2 separate regions of the Homo sapiens genome follow, and region 1 is linked to region 2. Evidence: promoter capture Hi-C in human tissues and cell types (Jung and others, 2019). All regions are on one chromosome and are shown on one strand. The core of a region is centred on a gene start or on the middle of the fragment in contact, and the rest is flanking DNA. Distances in the headings are between cores, read along the strand shown. Region 1 overlaps PI4KB (phosphatidylinositol 4-kinase beta). Region 2 holds the start of CA14 (carbonic anhydrase 14).

The links. The method cuts DNA at HindIII sites, captures the fragments that hold promoters and counts their contacts. A contact is called where the count stands out against the background at its distance.
Region 1: a fragment that was not itself captured here is called in contact with the fragment with the promoter of CA14 in region 2 in 1 of the 25 tissues and cell types used here (hippocampus).

What each region holds. Positions count from the first base shown.
Region 1 is chr1:151,318,942-151,321,641 of GRCh38, forward strand. The region is part of intron 1 of PI4KB (phosphatidylinositol 4-kinase beta); the gene reads right to left. Among named protein-coding and RNA genes, the nearest start is that of PI4KB, 7.1 kb to the right of the region's middle. The HindIII fragment of the contact is 7,586 bases long and covers 1-2,700 here.
Region 2 is chr1:150,256,438-150,259,137 of GRCh38, forward strand. CA14 (carbonic anhydrase 14) reads left to right here and starts at 1,337. Exons shown (of 11, transcript NM_012113.3): 1 at 1,337-1,746. The coding sequence starts at 1,692. RefSeq lists an enhancer at 1-221. The HindIII fragment of the contact is 12,121 bases long and covers 1-2,700 here.

The sequences.
Region 1 (2,700 bases), core at 91-2,590, 1.1 Mb after region 2:
TTCTCCAGTGCCGTGGCTGCTAACATATAATGGAAAGAGCTCTGGACTTGAAGGCAAATAGGCTGGGGTTGAAAATCCTCATTCAGCCTTTCAGAAATGTGCAACTTATGCAAGCCATTTATCCTCAACTGCAAATTGGGAAAAAACACTTCCTTCTCATTGTTGCTATGTGGAACAAATACCATCACGTGTATGAAAGAATCTAGCACAGTCTTTGATACATAGTAGTACTCAATATATGCTAGTTGAGGCCGGGCACAGTGACTCATGCCTGTAATCCCAGTGCACTGGGTGGCTGAGGCAGGTGGATCACTTTGAGGTCAGCAGTTCAAGACCAGCGAGACTCTGTCTCAAAAAAAAAAAAAAGAAATGCTAGTTGAATCCTCATCACCTAAAAGGTTACTAACCAGTGTGTGTGTAACATAAAACTTATATTATTTTATAAGGGAAGCAAAGAGTTCCAATTGTTTGAGAATCTTCCAGAAATACTTATGACAGCCTTTTCTGCCCCAATACCACTCCCCCCACTGTCATACACACATTCTAACAACTGGAGGGACAATTGAAAAGGCAAAAAGAAATCAGACTAGGACTCATAGATCTAGGCCTTCCAAAGAACAGGGAGGAACAGGAGTCACAAAACAAAGAACACCTCCTCTGGAGGGACTGTTGGAAGGAAGTTCAATGAAAGAACACTGCTGACCAAAGCCACTGCTCTCCAAGAACAATCCTTCAGAGCCTCACCAAATCTGGAATCAGTGCAGAACTGGGGAAATTTCATCAGATCAACCTGGCTCCAGAATCTGACTATAGCTAACAAAGGACTCAGACTCAGAGGCCTCTTCACAAAAATGCTAATAGAGTGAGTCTAAGACACACTCAAGAGCATGAGCAAGAGGAAAGATTTTGTAGAGTTGGAATACAGGTAATTTCAAAATATTAGTGACATCACCTTCAACCCCGGTGACCCTGGATGCATATACTTTGGGTAGGTGGAATAAGGAGGCCTAGAGATTCTTTAGTCCCTCTGGGAGGCTGTTTTCCACCACCACCCTTCCAGTGTCTGTTCTTGTACGTCTGAAATGTTAAGGTTACTTTTTTTTTCTTTTTGAGACGGAGTCTCGCTCTGTCGCCCAGGCTGGAGTGCAGTGGTGCAATCTTGGCTCACTGCAAGCTCCGCTTCCCGGGTTCATGCCATTCTCCTGCCTCAGGCTCACAAGTAGTTGGGACTACAGATGCCCGCCACCACGCCCGGCTAATTTTTTGTATTTTTAGTAGAGGCAGGGTTTCACCATGTTAGCCAGGATGGTCTCGATTTCCTGACCTCGTGATCTGCCCACCTCGGCCTCCCAAAGTGCTGGGATTACAGGTGTGAGCTGCCGCGCCCGGCCCCAGGTTACTTTTAACTGCCCAATATCATATAGTCCAGCTCCCTGCCTCCCAGCAGTCACCACTAAAGTTTTGCAGAAAGACGGATGGGGAACTCTTCTGTTCTCAGAGATCACCAAAAAAGGCTATTTCTGTTTCTTTCTGCCAACTCTGCCAAGCAAGTTCATTCCTGAATTTAATATCCCTGATGCAGATTGAGCTTGGTATTGGTAAGAAGGTGGCAACTCTTTCACTATGCTCTCTCCCAAAATTAGGTAGTGCCCTCTGAGCAGTAGAACCAGCATGGCTGCCTATGTGGATCTGTCCCTACTCGCAACTGTGAGTTGCACAGGAATAATAAGAAGGAAGCTTTAATCATTCCCTGCCACACCTTCGTAGGGCACTCTCATCAGAGGGTCACCGATTCAACGGGGACCACTACCTTTTAGGTCTGCTTAGAAACTCATGTGATAGCCTCAATCATCTTAAACAATCAACTTCTTTTTCTCAGTCTCTATGTTTGGTACATCCTTTCCTCTCCCTCTAGTCCACAGACTTTTAAGTCACTGAAAGCTCCTAGAAGTACACTTTTCAAAACTTTCAAGGGAAATACAGTTCAGACATTCTCCCACATAATAGTGTCTCAGACCTCACTAGAAAATTTAGCAGATGCCTGCCCCAATTAACTACGATTGGGATTATTACTGGCACCAGGAAGGCAAATAAGGATACTATCACCTCTTTTATCTCACAGACAAAAGAAAAACTCCCAGGGCTCAGCTAAGAATCACATCACAGTATTCAGAGGATTTTGCTACTGAACAGACTCTCCCTCCCGGCAGCTTTTACTCCTCAGGGAGCTAGACAGTGTTGAGAGGTGCAGGAAAAAACAGACTCCTCTCCTATATAAGCAGCTCTACCACTAGAAACCACCAAACTGGAGCTGGGTCTCTTCCCTGGCCTCTCAGGAACCCAGGCACTGCCTGCATCTGAAGCAAGTCATATGGAGAAGAAGGTGTTGTAGGGAATAGGGTTAAATTGCTTTAGCTATTTATTATTACTATTATTTTTATTTTATTTATTTTTTTGAGACAGAGTCTTGCTCTGTTGCCCTGGCTGGAGTGGAGTGCAGTGGCGCAATGTTGGCTCACCGCAACCTCCGCCTCCCAGGTTCAAGCGATTCTCCTGCCTCAGCCTCCCAAGTAGCTGGGATTACAGACACCCGCCACCATGCCCAGCTTGCTTCATTTAGTTTTGAATGCCAAGAAAATATGCCTTTGTGGGCAGGGCATGGTGGCTCACGCCTGTAATCCCAGCACTTTGGGAGGCTGA
Region 2 (2,700 bases), core at 87-2,586:
GGATAGAAAGGCACAGTGAGCTCCTGTCTCTGCAGGAGCTGATGATCCAGCACATGCATTATTCTGTTCATTTGGCTTTTATCCTGCTCCCTTATTTAGCTTCTGCTCCCTTTGTTTGGCTATTTATTGCTACTCGGCAGGAGCAAGGAGGGCAGAGGGAGCTTCAGATGGGTGCATCCTCCTGGCTGGTGCCTCTGGTGAAGAGCATGGAGGAGAAAGAGGTTTCAATGTCTGGCTTGAAAGTATCTGTGGGTTTCACATTCTCTAACGAGGGATTTAGGATGTACATTCCAATCGGGATTTCCAGTCCCGTGGGGAGCAAACATCAGTTCACATTCCTGAGACGTGCAGCCTCCATGCTCCACGGACGCAGCTCCTTGGTGGCAGGTTTCATTCAGTGCCACATGTCCTGCCTCAGCCCTTTGTTGGGCTGGAAGGAAGACCCTGAGCCCCTCTTCCATCTGGATCACATGGTCTCTCCAGACCCTCCCCTCTCTTTCTCTGGAAACCACCTTTTTCTGATGGTGGTAGTGATTGTTCCTAAAGTCTCTCCTTTCCTCCTGCCCTGGCCTCTCTGCCGGAGGTCAGTGTCCTCTTCAGTGACAAAAGCCGCCCTAGATCTGGGCTCCCTGGAGAGGGAGGTGGCTGGGTCTGGCAGTTACAGCCGCTGTCTCTCCATGGTGCTGCTACACCCCTCCCCCACTGGGCATACAAATGGGCTTTATCCAGCAAACAACGCTCCCTCCCCGCACTCCCCCCACCCCAGGCCACACAGGCACGTGGACCCAGGCCTCACCGTGGGAAGGGGGTGGTGGCAGGCACAGAAGAGATTGCTCCAGATGAGTTCTCCTTGCCTCACTTCTCTTCCTTAGAACTTAGGACACAACTCAGGTTTTAGTTATTGACTTCCTCCACCCCTCCCCTGCACCCTGAGTCCCTAATTCCTTCTTGTTATATATCTCCTAATTCTGGACTCTTCCCATTCCAGGGCAGCTCAGATTATGCAGGGAATTGGGAACAGGTACCCCCACCATCTGCCGCATACCACCCAGGGAGCTGCTCCTCAGAGGAGAAATCAGGCGGGGGGATGAAAATACAGTGTCCTTTTGAGGGGGCTGAGTTGAACCCCAAAGCCCCTTCCTTGACCCTGCCTGCTCCAGGGAACACCCATCTAAACAGCATCTGTGTGACTAGCAGAGGAAGGAAGAGCTCACCCCAGCTGGGCTCCTGAGCCAGGGCCAGGGCTCCAGTGAAACTTGCCGCGCTCCAGCTCCGAGTGGGGCCATCCTGCATGCCTAATTGGCTATTTAAGGAGCTGTTCACCAGCAGCCCAGGCAGCACCCCCGTCCCCACATACACCAGTTCAGAGCCACCTTAAAAGCAGGAGGCAGTTGTAAAGTCGCTGGCCAGCTAGTGGAGTGGAGACTGCAGAGGGAGATAAAGAGAGAGGGCAAAGAGGCAGCAAGAGATTTGTCCTGGGGATCCAGAAACCCATGATACCCTACTGAACACCGAATCCCCTGGAAGCCCACAGAGACAGAGACAGCAAGAGAAGCAGAGATAAATACACTCACGCCAGGAGCTCGCTCGCTCTCTCTCTCTCTCTCTCACTCCTCCCTCCCTCTCTCTCTGCCTGTCCTAGTCCTCTAGTCCTCAAATTCCCAGTCCCCTGCACCCCTTCCTGGGACACTATGTTGTTCTCCGCCCTCCTGCTGGAGGTGATTTGGATCCTGGCTGCAGATGGGGGTAGGTACAACTAAATGTCTGTGTGTGGATTTGTGCTGATGTTCACATGTCGCCAGGTGTGCTTAATGGGGGGAGGAGAGGTGTGAAAGGAAGCCTAGAGGCTGGAATAATAGGCTCAGAGATGAGGAAAAAAGAGTGGGGTGTGGAGGAGACCACTTCCCTTCTTTACCTTTTGTCTCTCCAGCCTTGTTGTTATTGGAGGTCGGGGAGAACTAGCGGCAGGCAGGCAGAGTGTGTACACATGCAAGTGCTGGAATCTCTTTGCAGGCTACAGATTTTCTCCAGAGCTCTTTCCCCCACTGCCCTGGTCCCAGGCAGGACTCCTGGACTTCTTTATTTACAAACTCCTCCAAATAGGGAGTCAAAGAGGCCTGGAGTAAAAAGATGGATAGATGGGGGTAGGGGGAAGAATACTTCCTGCCCAACTCAGACCCTGATCTCCAATTCATCCCCTTTTGGCCAAGATTCCCTCTTCATTCTGTGGAGCGACTAACTCCCCAGTTATCCTCTGAAAGTGGCAGTAAGAGTCAACATTTGTTTGACATTTTACAGTTTACAAAGGACTTTCAGGAGCTCCCAGGAGATGAGGAGGGATTCTTGGGAGAACAGGCTGAAGCGCTCCAGGAGTGTCCCCAGGAACTCCTAGACCTCATTTTTGTGTTTCCTGTGCCTAGCACAGTGTCCAGCACATACTAGGTGTGTAACTGAGGTTTGTGGAAAGAGCAGGGTGAGGTGGGTGTCCAGAGAGCAGAAGGCAAATGCAGAGAGGATGGGGGCAGGCAGGCAGCCAAATGGAGAGTCACAAATCTCATCTGAGGAGAAAGAAAAAAAGAGGGAAAGAGGAGGAAGAGACAGAATAAGTGTGTTGAGGCTCTGACCAGAGTGGACAGGCACCTTTACAGACCAGGGAGTTTGAGTTGTTGGGGGGTCCCACAGATATGGTAAAATGAGAGG